Regions from separate parts of the Homo sapiens genome. Here region 1 is linked to region 2. The links are contacts of gene promoters, found by promoter capture Hi-C in blood cells and fetal thymus (Javierre and others, 2016). All regions are on one chromosome and are shown on one strand. Each heading gives the region's core, a stretch centred on a gene start or on the middle of the fragment in contact. The rest is flanking DNA. Distances are from core to core; before and after follow the strand shown. Region 1 overlaps LINC01738 (long intergenic non-protein coding RNA 1738). Region 2 holds the start of PDZK1IP1 (PDZK1 interacting protein 1).

Region 1 (7,651 bases), core at 1,215-3,714, 510 kb before region 2:
AAGAACCAGAGACCCGGTCTCCTGGCCCCAGCCCAGTGTTATTTCCACTCTGACACTGACCTAGGGCAAGGCCCTCCCAGTTTTTTCAGCCTCCCTATCTGTAGTGAGAGGGTGTGGGAGAGAAAGCCTCTAGGGCCCCTTCCAGGGTCCAGGCTGTAGCTGTGATCAGTTCTGAGCTCAGGATGTGAAGGTGAAGAATGAGAGCAGGAAGTTCCAGGCTCCAGGGGGTGGGGCAGGCCCCACCAGGGGAGGCAGAGGGCACAGAAGCCACCCCTGACCGACTTCACAAGATAAGGCCCACCCTCACCTCCCCACTTCCTCCTCTCCAGCCCCAGGGTCTCCTTTGCTTCCACATCTTGTTGACTTTTGAATTTACAAGGTGTGCCAGTTGCCAAGGCCCCTGGTTGATTACACCCCCGGACCTGCCTTAGGAAAGCATCCTCCTCTCCAAGCCCCCACCAGCAACTGGGAGGTGAGGCTGGGAACGCAAGATGGGATCTCTCAGGTGCTGGAAAGAAATTAAAGAGGAAACTTATCAAAAAGAGGATGGAAGAGAGAAAGCAAAGGTAAGTTCCATTCTGGAAAGGAAATGGGGAGGAGCCACGTGCAATTTTATAGCCATGTTCTGAAACTCATGACTCTTGACCAGGTCCGACTCTGACCGTGGGGGAAAGCTCAGGTGGGGTGAGGAGCTTTATGGTGTTTGCTTGGTTTATTGGCTTTGTGGAAGAGGATATGAGGGCCCAGGCAGTTCTCTGGAGATAGGACCCCTCAAGGAAAGGCCAAGATTTATGGTTTCCGGAAGCCCTCAAGGTTACTGGCCTAGGCCTAGGCTTTCCTTGGTTCTGGGGATTTAAGGGAGGGAGGGCCTGGAGGTAAAGGAAATTCCAAATCATGGTGAGAATCATTCCCCAAAAGACTTTATCTTCCATGGTCTCCCATGATTCCCAGTAACTACATGATGTTGACAGTCCGCCATCATTTTAACGAAATGGGGGCCTGAGGCTGGGAGAGCAGGCAGGCCGGCCCCTGGTCAGCTAGAATCAGTGTCAGGGGAGCAACTCAAACCCATCTTTCCTGGTTCCCACTCCAGGGCGCTTTCTCACTGGGCTATTTATACTGGAGTGGCCTTTGACACCCAATCAGAAAATACCTGAGTCACACTGGCTAAAAGAAAAGAAGTATTGCTAAGGGCTCTGGCCTAGAGTCACCTCTGTGTCACCACATGCAGGCCTGGGACAATAGCCATCCATCACTGCTCAGCAAGGTAGTGTAGGTGTCCCCTTGCACAAGCATGTGACTACACAAAGGGTGCTTGACCTTCCAGGAAATGCTACTGTGGACACTGTCCCTGGCCAAGTGGCTCTGGAAACAAATGTTTCATTGACAAACCTACTTCACAGGCATAAGAGGCTGGTTCCTGACATGGCCTTCCAGTCTTCTGTGGACCCTGTTAGCAGGATAAATTTTATTTCTGAGCTTAATTAGGGGACATGCCATAAATATTCATGCAGCAAAATGAGCCCTGGCTCACAAGTGCAGCTGCTTCCCGCTTGGGGGAAATTAACATTGTTTTCCAACCATGAGTAATGAGGCGCCACTGCTGGAGAGAGGAGCCTTTTCAACAGCCTCTTTAGGACAGAAAGGGAGAGCCACACTCAGAGGCACCCGCACCCTGGGAGCCAGCCTGGCCCCCGCAGACCCCTCTGCATCTCCAAATGAGGGGCACAGCTGGGCTCCTCTGGGGCTCAGTCCTGAAGGGAGCCCCCACCAAGGCGCTCAGCAGAGCAGACAATGCATCAAGAACAGGGATCAGCAAACTATAACACAAGGGCCAAATCCACCTGCCACCTGCTTTTGTAAATAAAGTTTTATTGGAACCCATTTGTTTAGATATGGCTACAACAGCAGAGTTGAGTAATGTGACAAGAGACCTTATGGCCTGCCAAGCCAAAGGAAAATATTTACAACCTGGTCCTTTGCAGAAAAAGTATGCCCTAGAACTGTTTCATCCTGGACATTTGCAATTATTAATATAAGTCCCATAATCTCAAATTCTCTGTAACCTTAGGAATATGGAATGGTTTTAAAGTCTCATGGTTTTAGAATCTTCGTGCATAGACTCTGGAACCAGACTTCAATCTCAGCTCTATCACTTCCTTAGCTGTGTGACCATGGGCAAGTTACTTAACCTTCTCTCTGCCTCAGTTTATTTATCTATAAACTGGGGGTAAGAATAGTACCTAGCTCATAGTGTTGTGAAGACTCAATGAATATTTATAAAGCCCATATAAAAGTATTCAGCATAGGATAAGCTTTAAATAAGTACCTGTTAAATAAATGGATTCAATTTCCTATAATTCCAGATCCTCAAAGAATAGGATCTTAACCTTCCCCTACAAATTTCAGCCTGTAAGATCTTAGAATCTAAGCTGTGACAGGGAGAGCCCCCAAGTTTCTGACACTGTACTAAATACCTTATGTGCATTATCTCATTTAATCTCCAAAACAACTCTTGGAAGTAGGAATTACAGGCAATTTACATATAAGGAAACAAACTTTGCAAAGGTAGGAGACTAATCCAAGGTCACAGGGGTAAATTGCAAAGCTTGAACAGGAGGAGCCCAGGGTACCTGACTCCAAGCCTATCTCTCAGATAATCCTACCCCTCACCCACTGCCACAGTCTCTCCTCAGTACCTGTCACAGGGTCCTCCAGCCTCTGCTGGGCACCTGCCGTGTCAGGGAGCTCACTGCCACTGGAGACAGCCAGCTCTGTGGCTGGAGAGCTCACACTGGGATCTGCTCTTACTTTCGCTCCTTCTAACCCCCTTGGTCCTAGTTTGTCTCTTTGCAGCTCTGAAAAGCCCAGGCAAGAGACCACAGACACTTCTGGGGACATCTCCCAACTTGCTGGGAGCCAGCAGCAGCCTAGGCCTCAAGCATTTGCAACAAACTAGACCCATGAAAAGACAGAGCTCCATAGCTTTGGACAAACCATGCCTCCAGCAAGCCCTCCCTGGTACCAACAAGAAGCAGGGACCCTTCTTTCTCCTTAAGACTCCCAACATTCCTGCCTGAACCATCACTCGATGAGACAAGAGCCATGTCCTCATCTAAGTCTTGTCATAATACTCCTAGGACTCTCTAAGCCTTGTAATCTTTCTTCTTGCTGTCAAAGTGTTTTGAGATCTAGTCTCTCCTATGGTTCTGCAGCATAATGAAGCTCATCAAGTGCTGGTAGCATTGCGTTTATCCTCAGCATTCTTGACCTAGTAGGTCAAGAAAGTATTACCATTCCCATTTATAAGATGATGTCCCCGAGACCCAGAGGGGAGGAGGAACAGAAAGAAAAAAGAAATTATACTATAACAGAACCTTCTGGTACCAGGCCCTGTGCTAAGCCCTTTGTCTCATTTCATCCTGACACACGTAGATGCTACCCCACTTTCCGGGAAAGTGAACTGTGGCTCCTAAAGGAAATCCGACCTGTTCTAGGTTCCATAGACAGCAGGAGGAGGAAGACATTGATCATGCATCTACTGTGTGCTAAGTATGTTCATACACATATATGCCTTATTCTGCCATCACACACACACAAAACCCTAAGGTGGGTTTTTTTTAATGCCTGCTTGCCAGATGTGTAAACTAAGGCTCAGAGGCTGGGGTGGCTGTCCCAGGGGAGTGGGGCTGGGCCCCAGGCCTCATTGGTGTGGATGAAGCACTCTTGCCCGACCCCAGCAGCCATGGCAAGACTCAGCCCATATCCTTTCAGGGAGTGGCAAAGGAAACACTGGGCCCTTTTACAGGGTTTCCATGTGCATGACCGGGAGCCCCTAAGGATGGCCGATCTGCCACGGATGGGAGGAACGGTTTATTTTTTCTGTGGGCCGCTCTGGAGCCTTTCAAAGGTGTGAAGTTCCATGGCCTGCAAAAGCTGATTCTACTGGCTATCCAAAGCAGACCTGCCTGGGCCCCAGCCCCTGCAGCCCCCACAGTCCCCACAGCCCCCCACAGCCCCCGCAGACCCCGGCCTCTTCATATGCCGCCCATGGGAACTCCCTCTGGCCCACCTGGCCTCTCACACGCTGAAAGGCTGCAGAGTGACAGGCCGGCAACTGGACTCTGATGTTTATTCACCAAACACAGAGACGGCCCTCCAGGCCTCTGCTACCTCAGGGAAGAGGGGTCACCAGCCCACCCCCAGGCCAGGATCCCAGCACACTCACCTCTGGAGACTGGCCATGAGGAGGAGCATCCAAGCTGCTCCTGCAGCGAGAGAGACTCTGGTTAGACACAAGGAAGAACTAGCTGCCACTGAGGGACATTCAGCTCAGAGAGAGAAGCGGAATCTCCTGAAGTGCCATGGCATCTTGGTAAGGACCCTAGACTCTTTGTAACCCCTGGGATGAGGAGGGGTGAGGCTGCATGAATCCCAAGCCCCACTCTACCAGTTCTGACAATGTCGTAATTCTGAGGTTCCACGGCATGAGACAGGGGGTCAGACTGGACCACAGGATCATTTCTGAATGCTTCTACCTCCAGACCTGCCAAGTGATTGACCGGACAAGGCTGAGCTTGTGTTGGGGAACCGCTTGGTTGCTTCCCTGTACATAGTCAAGAAAGTTGCACGGTCACTTTGTAAAAACGGAACTGCTGGTATTGTTGTTTTTCTGTTGTTCCTTTCCCCGCTACCATTTTTATAACTGAACTGATTGCTTTGATTGGACTGGCCCGTTGCTCATCTAAACTGACCCGTTGCTGGACTCAACTGACAGGCTGTTTGTCGGCCACGGTCAGCTGTGGATGTGGAGCTGGTTGGTGTGTAGCTTTCCAGATTAGATATTTTGATGAAATGGACTGGTCCGAGCCCTGCAATCACCCCAGCCCCACTCCCCAACCTCACCACCAGCCTCGGCTTTTCCAGAGAATTGCAGTTCCATGAGTTTCAGGCATAAATCCCGGCCAAATCCACCATGAAAGGACACACAATATTGTCACAGGTTTAAAACTGGGATTCAAATCAAGAGGGCAGAAAGTCCCAATGGAGGACCCGTTGTGCCCTGCAGCCTTGCCAGGCAGTCCACGTGGGCTGGACCGAGGCTGCGGTTCTGTCCCTCATCCGTGTCGGGGGATTGCTGAGCCCCTAGCACAGCCCCCTCACTTGCCTCTTTAACTCACTTCCTTTCATTGCTGACAGGTCCACCAACTTTCAATGGGGCTGTGGCAAGAGGGTACTCACCCACCCACCCCCAAGCCCATTCACCCTGCCCACCCCTCCTTGGCCTTTCAGGCTCACAGTGAAAGGGACTTGTCCAGAAATCGGGGATTTACCATTGTGCCCTTTGTAAAGACTCTCCATTTTCCTCAGCCCCACCCCTCCCATCTCCAGAATCAGTAGGGGTGGCCCCTGCAGAGCTGCAGATGGATGCAACAGAGCACAACACACCCAACACCCTTGTTTAGAATCAGGGCTGAAGCCTCAGAAACTCAAACTTTGTTTCAGAGCCGGAAGACAACCTCTAGATTTCTCCGGCCTCCACCCGCTCCCCATTTTACAGATGGGGAAACTGAGAGTCATAGAATGAGGCCTCTTGACACCTAGTGTGCTATTCCATTAGCTCGTTTTCACTCCCCATTTCTTTTCTTACTTCTTTCAGAATTGAGGAGGTAATGACATTTGTCATTTGTGTTAACAATATGCCACACCACTGAAAACTGTGTACAATGGCTGCAGCCAACAGTCTAGGAAGTTTGGGGTCATGGTTTTGTTGTTTCACATCTGAAATCAAAACCCAGAGCCATGAAAATAGCAGATCTTGGTTGAACTGCCTCTAAAATAAATAGAAATACTCACCTAACTAATTTGAAATTCAACTCACGAAAAGGAATAAAGCCAAATTGTAATTTTTCTGTTTCTAATATTTTTGCTCCCACATTTAGATTATTTAATCCAACTACCTATCTGTGGGTGGGCCTGCTGGGGACCAGAAAGGAGCTCTAACTTGCCCAAAGGCACACAGCATGGCAGGCGGGTTTGGCCTGACTATCCTCTACCTCTCCGGCACGCATTTCGGTGTTGGAAAAATCTCGGCTACATCGAAATGGTATTCCTAGAACCAGTTGGGCACTGCAATTTGGTTAGCTGTGTGGCTTTGCAGTTTCTAAACTAAATGGTTTATTAAGAATAGATGTGTCAGGCCAGGCACAGTGGCTCATGCCTGTAATCTCAGCACTTTGGGAGGCCAAGGCAAGTGGATCACCTCAGGTTGGGAGTTTGAGACCAGCCTGACCAACATAGAGAAACCCTGTCTCTACTGAAAATACAAAATTAGCAGGGCATGGTGGTACATGCCTGTAATCCCAGCTACTCAGGAGGCTGAGGCAGGAGAATCACTTGAACCCAGGAGGCGGAGGTTGCAGTGAGCTGAGATCGCGCCACTGCACTCCAGCCTGGGCAACAAGAGCAAAACTCTGTCAAAAAAAAAAAAAAAAAAGAATAGATCTGTGAGATACTATCTTATGCCAGTTAGAATGGCGATCATTAAAAAGTCAGGAAACAACAGATGTTGGAGAGGATGTGGAGAAATAGGAATGCTTTTACACTGTTAGTGGGAGTGTAAATTAGTTCAACCACTGTGGAAGACAGTGTGGCGATTCCTCAAGGACCTAGAACCAGAAATACCATTTGACCCAGCAATACCATTTGATCCAGCAATCCCATTAGATCCAGCAATCCCATTACTGGGTATACACCCAAAGAATTAAAAATCATTCTACTATAAAGACACATGTACATGTATGTTTATTGCAGCACTATTCACAATAGCTAAGACTGGGAACCAACCCAAATGCCCATCAATGATAGACTGGATGACGAAAATGTGGCACATATACACCATGGAATACTATGCAGCCATAAAAAAGGATGAGTTCATGTCCTTTGCAGGGACATGGATGAAGCTGGGAACCATCATTCTCAGCAAACTAACACAGGAACAGAAAACCAAAGACCACATGTTCTCACTCATAAGTGGGAGTCGAACAATGAGAACACGTGGACATAGGGAGGGGACCATCACACACAAGGGCCTGTTGGGTGGAGGGGGTGGCTAGGGGAGGGAGAGCATTAGGATAAATACCTAATATAGATGACGGGTTGATGGGTGCAGCAAACCACCATGGCGCGTGTATTCCTATGTAACAAACCTGCACATTTTACACATGTATCCCAGAACTTAAAGTATAATAATAATAATAAAAGAATAGATGTGAAAGCAGCAAAAGCGGTTGATTTCAATGCTTCATCTATGGGAAGATTGCCACAATCTCTGAGCATTTCTAACCCAGGCTGCTCCCTCCCCTAGGAGGTGCTTTACGTGATCCTGGGGCTGGGAGATTCTGCATGGGAACTGAGCTGGAGAAAAGATCATTCAAGGAAGATAGCCTCGTCTTTTGGCGGTCACTGCACAGACTCTGTCTTTATAGTGCTTAAATAAAAAGCAGGAGGTTTCATATTTAAATTGTTTATCTTCGGCTAGTTCTTCTACAGAGCTTTGGGATGAATTCATTCCGAAGGCAATATTTTCTAAATTACCAGGCTGACTCTGAAGCCGACTTTGTTTTGCTTTTGGTTTATTCCTAAATGTAAT
Region 2 (7,630 bases), core at 1,136-3,635:
CCCCCCCACCCTCCTTAAGTCTGTCCTTGCTTGGCTCCTGGGATACCCCACTTTCCTGGGGTTGCTTCCTCCTGTTTCCTCCTGCCCCTTCTTCCTTTGAAAGACCTTTGTGTGTTGGGGGCGTGTCTCCTTCTTTCTGTGCTCTCCCCTCAACACCCCTACCCCCGCTACACACACTGGGGAGACCATGAGCTCCCAGGCCTCAGTTACCATCCCTGTGCTGCAGACGGCTCCCAGATGTTCCACTCCAGATGCAGGGATTTTGCAGCCTTCCAGATGTCTCCCTCTGGAAAGTCCACAGGCACTGCAAGCATAATACCTCAAAATCTATAGCTCATTAATCCTCCAACCCCCCAAACTTGCTCTGGCCCCTACTGAGGCACTAGCATCTACCCAGCTGCCTACGCCAGAAACCTGGGAGTCACCTGAAGCCCTGCCTCCTGCCTGTACCCATTCTCCCAGCTTGGCACTGTGTTCCAGCAGCCACACCCCGGCTTCTCTACCTCCTCAACAGGGCTCAGATCTGTTCCCATGGGCACTTCCTGCCCAGGTCCAGGCACTGGTGTTGTGGCCACTGTAGCAGATCCCTGGATTTCTCTTCTCCAGCCTTTGCATGCCCCTTTCACTCTCCACACTGCATGGAGAGGTGTTTTCCCAAACGCAAAACTAACCATGTGACTCTCCTCCCTAAAATTCTTGGAGAAGGCACCAGTAGATGTTTGTTAAATTCAGCCCCATTCCTTACATTCCAATCAGTGATTCTCTGGCTGTTCATTAACATGCACAGTGCTTACTCCAGTCTGTGTTAGAAGATTCTGAGGACACCAAGTTGGGTGTGGGAGGGAGGCCAGGATATACATGTTTGGGAGGCATCACTCAACTCCAAGCAAAGTTCTCCCAGATCACCTTGAGACACTCCATCTTTGGATGGCAATGGGCCCGACTGCACACGCATGTGAACACACACACACACACCCACACACACCACACACACACACACACACACACACACACACACACACACACACACACACAGGAAGCAGGCCTGAGGCATGATGTCTGAGTGCTCCCGCTGGAGCAGGAAGGCAGAATCAACCTGCCATAGGAAGGGTTGCCCAGGAGGCCTGATGAATAGGAGTTTGGTGGCTTCAGGGAAGAGAGGCTGTGGAGGTGCCTTCAGCTCAGGTGCTGGCTCCTGGGGACCTTCCATCTCTGATGAGACTTTGTTCCAGTTGGCCCGCTCCTTTCTAGGGAGTCAGCATCTCAGCTTCCCATACTTCTGGGGTGGGGGGTGGGGCAAGGAGACCAGCATGACCCTTGGTCAGGGGCTTGCACAGGAACTCTGGCCATTCTCATTCCCTGAGCTGGAGGGCCAGGTGGACACCACGTGATCCTGGGGAGGCTTTTGCCTCTTCCGAGGGCTCTGGCTCCAGGGCCTCCCTGTTCCAGGGGCTAGGTGTGCCTTCCTCAATGCTGCTTTTGGCTATGAGGGTGACGGGCCCAGGGCTTCAGGGCCCCAGATCGCACCTTGCCATCTGGGGTGTCCGTCCTTTGTCCCCCACAGCAGGCTGTGTTTGCCCATTTTCTCCTCTGCCATGGGTGGAGATGGATCTGAAGTTGGGTGTTGAAGCCTCTGACCAAGGCTGTATCTTGTTTTGAGGCCCTGCCCGGTTTCCAGGGACCACATCTGGGGCCAAGAGGAAGAACCGAACTGGGACTAGGTTAGCTGTGCTGGGTCAGGGCCTGGGCATGGGCTGTGAAAGCTGGGGACTGGGACCTTCAGGCCCTCTATTGAGATCTTTGCAGAAGGGGGTGGATTTAGGAAGCTACTGGGCTGGGCCAGGGCGTGGAAGGCACTGAAGCCGTAGTGTGTCCCAGCATTAGAGTCCCAGAGTTTAGCTTGGCGGGGCAGGGGCAGGTGGTGGGGAGAACAGGAAATAGGCCAGGCTCTCGGCGGAGTCTGGCAGCTTTGAGCCTTCTCTGGGCTTCTGGGGTTTTCCCCAGGCTCCTGAGCCAGCCAGGACATTTCTTAATCCCACTGTCAGCCTTCCAAGAAGCCCCGCCCACTGGGCTCAGTCAAGGCAGGAGCGACTGTGTGTCACCCCTTTCCCTAGAATCCAGCCCCACTGCCAGGAAAAGGGAGCTCAGGGCATGGAGGTGAGGCTGGGACTCTCCCACATCTGCTTGTTCCTCATACCCACCTCCTTAGCTGGCCCCTGGAAGATGACCTCGAATGCCAGCCCAAGTGAGCTGGGCACCAGCCAGGGGAGGCCAGGTCTGGCAGCTCATTACCATGGGAGGGAGGGCACGTTCTCTCCGACGCCCGTCTTCGTGTCTCCTCCCTCCCTCGCCTTCCTCCTTCCTAGCTCCTCTCCTCCAGGGCCAGACTGAGCCCAGGTTGATTTCAGGCGGACACCAATAGACTCCACAGCAGCTCCAGGAGCCCAGACACCGGCGGCCAGAAGCAAGGCTAGGAGCTGCTGCAGCCATGTCGGCCCTCAGCCTCCTCATTCTGGGCCTGCTCACGGCAGTGCCACCTGCCAGCTGTCAGCAAGGTAGCTCAGGAGGAGAGGGCTGGGCACGGGAGACCCAGGGGTGGACAGGTGGTGTTCTGGCTCCCCTCCCCAGGGCCTTGATACTTACAGTTTGGAGGGGGAGCAGGGACTGCGCTAGCTGAAAGAATGTCCCAAGGCAGAGACCTCTGAACCAAGTCTCTGCCTGTCACTTGTTTTCAACGAGTGAAAACTGGCAGCAGTTGGTTCTAGGATCTCAGGGAGGAACAGGATTTGAGGCCCAAGCCCCAAGAGCAGGCATTGCCCAAGGGATGGCTGGGTCCTGAGTACAGGGGACCCGGGGGTACAAGTAGGGTGAGAGTGGGGCCCAAGCCACCCCTCAAAGACTTGGGCTTTGTCTCGGCCTCTTGGGCTTGGATAGAGAACAGTGCCCAGTGTGACTCCCCCAAATATCTGACCTCTTCGTCCTGCTCTGCCTGAATGGATGTGTGACCTTGAGCAAATCACTGCCCCTTCCTGAGACTCAGTTTTCTCACCTATAAAATGAGAACAATAAACCCCACCCTGCCCACCTCCCAGGGCTGCTGCCAGGTCAGAGGTGAAGAAGGGCTTTGCACCTGGTGAAGTAACTAACCCAAGGTCTGGCTTTCATTCTACACTGTCAGGCTGCATCTGCAGCCAAAGTCTGGGGACTCTGCAGGTGGGACTTGGTCCAGAGGGGACTGGCAAAGATGCTTTCAGAGCTCCCCTCCCACCCCCACCCCGAGCTCTTATGTGTGTCTGCTTCAACTCTGTCTCCCAGGTCTTGGAAGCCCTCTGGGGAACTGCAGACCAGAGAGGTTGAGTCACAGAGCACGGCAAGAAAGGACAGGGTTCAGACCACCTTTCTCCTGCCCCAGACACTGCCCCTTGCTGTATGTGCATGGGAGGAGGAGCAGGGACTGTGGTCCCTGGGGTGACTGGAGAGAATTGGCTGCAGGGTCTAGGAGGAAACAGGGAGGGGCCTCCAAGGGTTGAGCCCTAACTCCCCATGCTTGAGCAACCACTGACCTGAGGGAGCAGTCTGAACCCCTAGGGAAACAATGACTCCCAAATACTGCTTTTTGGCAGGTGTGGAACTGAGGGTAATCACACTGTGTGTCTTCTGCTTCCCCTGGAGATAAGTGAGGTCTGACCTCACTACAGGCCAGAGAGTTCCTAGCCTCCTTCCTCCTTCCCAATATTTGCCAGGCTCGGAGAAGAGGTCAGGCCTCCACTGCAGCAGGAGAGCTTTTGGTAGACTCAAAGGAGGACATTTGAGCAGGAGTGAGCCAGAGGAAGGTTTTCTCATGTCCAGCTTGGGTCCCTCAAAATATAGGGATGCAGGTATATTCTGGCCTGGAGGCAGGACCCCTCTGAAGCCCCCTGCTGACCTGTGTTTTGTCCTGGGACTTCTCCCCGCTGAGGGTCTTTTCTCTACAAGGCTGAGCTCCTGCAGGCTCATGGAGTGCAGTGATGCTGGGGAAGAGGAAAGTCCTTTGGGGAAGCAGAGGCCTGAAGGCAGGGACTTCAGGAAAATCTTGAGGGACTGTGTTGGTGTCAAGGGTCAAAAAGCAGAGAAGGGACCTGGTGCAGTAGCTCATGCCTGTAATCCCAGCACTTTGGGAGGCCAAGGCCAGAGGCTCGCCTGAGCCCAGGAGTTTGAGACCAGCCTGGGCAACGTAGTAAGACCCTGTCTCTATTAAAAAATAAAAAAAGTAGAGAAGGGTGCAGGTTGGGGCCTCAACCTAATCTCTGGCCCTAGTCCCTGGGCACCCAGCTGGGGGAATCAAAAGGAGCTCAGGTTTTGAGGCTTCTTTCCTGGTCCCCAAGACCCAGAGTAGAGTTCACCCCTCCATTCTGCCCTTCTAAAGATGTCCTGGTCCACTCCTCTCTCTGGGTACCCCAGGCACCCCAGATCTCCCCAGCTGAGCAGCCCTGAGAGTCTCCCACTCTCATACCCTTCCTACCATCAGAGAAACGTCTTGCTACAGAACAGGATCTTCTAGATCCCAGACCAGTCTTGTCAGCTGTGGGTCCTCCTCAGCCTTCTGGGAGCCACTCCCAGCTGCAAGGCCTAGGCCGGCTGTCCAGGGGGCTGCCCTTTGGTCCCTGGGGCTGCATGTGACCCACCTGCGGGAGGGAAAGAGGCTCTGGGCTGCCTAGATACAGCACTGAGGCTCTTCCCTCCTTGGCTTCTCACTCCTTCCAACTCCCTTCTCTCTGAGCCTCTGTTGTTCCTCCAGCTCCCTCCTTTTCCTAAGCTCGGTGGAGCTTAAGATGCATAAGTGGGTCAGATGGGCTGTATCCCACCCCTGCCTCCCCACAATGTCTCCTTGCTCCTGGCAGCTGGCTGAGGGCCTTCAGCATAGGTGGGGTCCTTGAAGAGTGAGGCCCCTCGCTCTCCTGCACATGCAGCCCCACTGTGGCCCCGTCTGCTACAGCCCCTCTCCCTTTGTTAGGCCTGGGGAACCTTCAGCCCTGGATGCAGGGCCTTATCGCGGTGGCCGTGTTCCTGGTCCTCGTTGCAATCGCCTTTGCAGTCAACCACTTCTGGTGCCAGGAGGAGCCGTGAGTGCTGCCCAAGGGTCCCTGAGCAGGCAGGGTGGGCCCAGGACCACTGCTCTTGCTCTAGTAGCAGTGAGAAGGGCCTCAGAAACCCTGTGTCCAATCCTCCCCCTGAGGCTCAAGGGAAGGGAAACTGAGGCTCAAGGTCATGGGGTGGGTTGGTGACAGTCGGGATGAGGGAATGAGAGCCTAGGCTTGCTGGCTCCCAGACCTGGGCACTGTGGGCCCCACAGCTCTGGTGCCCACTCCCTGTGAGTTTTGGGGAAACGGCTTCGCTTCTTGGAGTCTTGGTGTTTCCGCAGAGCCAGGATAGCGGCCCAGCCTGTGATGGGGGCTGTAAGGACCTCTAGAAGGTGCGGTCCCTCCTTTGGGTGGGTCAGCTGTGGTACAGAGAGGGCATGGGACAGACACACCTCCTGCCCTCACAGGCTCAGACTGGAGTGAGCTGTCAGAAGTTCAAGAGTTGCTGCTGAGGGAGAGCGCAGAGGACACTGCAGGGCCTGACCTGGTCCGGGGTGGCCAGAGAAGGCTTCCCCATTGCACATTTATCCCGAAACCTGACTAACGAGGAGGAGTCACTACCAGGATAGAGTGGCGTGGGAAGAGCGCTGCAGTTGAGGGAAGGGTACACCCAGGTCCTGAGTTAGGGGCACGGCACCAGGGCTGCTGGGGACAGACACACACAGGTGAAGGGCAGGTGGGCTGAAATCCAGCTCACTCTGCACTCACCAGGTCAGGACCCTCAGGCAAGGCTGCCTCTGTTCCCAGGGGCATTTCTTCCCAGATCTCACAAAGGTGGCCTGGTGGCTTGAGTGCTAGCCCCATGCAGGGTTGCTGAGGAAACCCCAGTGGCTCAGTGGGTGGAGACAGGGATGGAGACACCTGAGATGAGGCTGGTGAGGTGGGCAGGCCCAGGCCAACCAGGCTCTTGCACACCAATGACCTGAGCTTTGGACTTTACCTAAGTGAGCAGGAATCCAGTGACAAGTTTTTTTTTTTTTTCTTTTTTTTTGGAGATGGAGTTTTGCTCTTGTTGCCCAGGCTGGAGTGCAATGGCTCTATCTCGGCTCACTGCAACTTCTGCCTCCCGGGTTCAAGCGGTTCTCCTGCCCCAGCCTCCCGAGTAGCTGGGATTACAGGTGCCTGACACCACGCCTGGCTAATTTTTGTATTTTTAGTAGAGACAGGTTTCACTCTGTTGGCCAGGCTGGTCTCCAACTCCCAACCTCGTGATCCGCCTGCCTCAGCCTCTCAAAGTGCTGGGATTACAGGTGTGAGCCACCATGCCCTGCCTCCAGTGGCAAGTTTTTAAGCCAGTTTCGGGATGAGACACGGCCTTAGCAGAATGACTCTGGCTGCCTCGTGGCAGATGCACGGCAGCGGTGGAAGAGTCTCCAGTCTGCAGGCCTGGAGAGTGGTGAGGGGGTGGGCATGAGGTCAGGAGGGGGTCTGGACTGTAGCGGTGGCAGAGAGGATGAAGTGAAGAGACGAGTCTGAGCGCTGTCTAGGAGGTGGGCACCCTGGGAGTTGGTCGTCACAGACAGCAGCGGACTCGAGGGGAGGAAGGCAGGAATGGCATCTAAGTTTCTCATGGCGGATCACTCACCGAGGCCCAGAACACAGGAGGATGAGCAGACATAGGGGCAACTGCTAAGTTTAATTGGAGACATATTAAGTCTGGGGTGCCTGTGGGATGTCTAAGGAAATGAGCAGGTGTTCGGGTCCCTGTAACCCTCATGAGAGCAGCTTCTGGGAGGCTTCAGGGAGAGCCCACACTGCAGGGGGTTTAAACTTGAGTAAGAGACGAGAAGGTTGTTGTTGAATGCCCTTCAGATAGACTTTCTCCACCTGCCCCAGCTCTGCCTGAAGGGCCACCAACCACATCTGTGCCCACTGCCCAAGGCACGAGCTGGGGAAATTTGGGGCAGACACTGCATCCTGCAGGGCCTGCTGTGGAGGCTGAACTGAGGGCGTCTGGGACAGAGAGAGGCTTTGGACTCAGGATAAATCTTTTGCAAATATTTGGCCCCCCACTATGGAGTGGGGAGAAAGTGAGAGACCCCATGGGTGGGGCCAGTAGCCGCGGCTGACATGCCCTGTTGCACACAGCTCTGGGAAGGGCAGTTGCTAGCCTTCGGGCTTGTGAGAACCAGGACCCAGAATAGGGTCTGCTTGGACGAGGGGGGCCCCACTGAGGAGCCCCACTGATGAATCCCATCCCCAGGGAGCCTGCACACATGATCCTGACCGTCGGAAACAAGGCAGATGGAGTCCTGGTGGGAACAGATGGAAGGTACTCTTCGATGGCGGCCAGTTTCAGGTGAGGTGCAGGGCAGGGCTGCCCGGTCTGTGCTCCCAGGGCCTAAGGAGAATCTCAAGACAGGTGCTGCTGGGGGGAGGTGGCTGGGGAGGACGGAGACTCATGTGGGCAAAAGCTAGTGAGGCAATGGGGGCTTTGTGAGGATTGCAGGGCTCTGTGGGGAAAATGCAGCCCCTGTGTGGGGCGAGGGCTGCAGAAGGGGACGGAGACT

What was found. Contacts are between HindIII fragments. The CHiCAGO score rates a contact against its expected background, and 5 or more counts as called.
Region 1: a fragment that was not itself captured here is called in contact with the fragment with the promoter of PDZK1IP1 in region 2 in 1 of 17 cell types (naive CD8 T cells); the score reaches 5.8 in naive CD8 T cells.

The regions. Positions count from the first base shown.
Region 1 is chr1:47,690,812-47,698,462 of GRCh38, reverse strand. It overlaps LINC01738 (long intergenic non-protein coding RNA 1738), which reads right to left. Exons shown (of 3, transcript XR_001738040.3): 2 at 4,229-4,268. It overlaps LOC124904174 (a long non-coding RNA gene), which reads left to right and starts at 4,035. Exons shown (of 2, transcript XR_007066067.1): 1 at 4,035-4,375; 2 at 7,367-7,651. The HindIII fragment of the contact is 293 bases long and covers 2,318-2,610 here.
Region 2 is chr1:47,184,791-47,192,420 of GRCh38, reverse strand. It overlaps PDZK1IP1 (PDZK1 interacting protein 1), which reads left to right and starts at 2,385. Exons shown (of 4, transcript NM_005764.4): 1 at 2,385-2,555; 2 at 4,994-5,102; 3 at 7,324-7,419. The coding sequence starts at 2,489. RefSeq lists an enhancer at 31-980 and a silencer at 1,810-2,104. The HindIII fragment of the contact is 10,710 bases long and covers 1-7,630 here.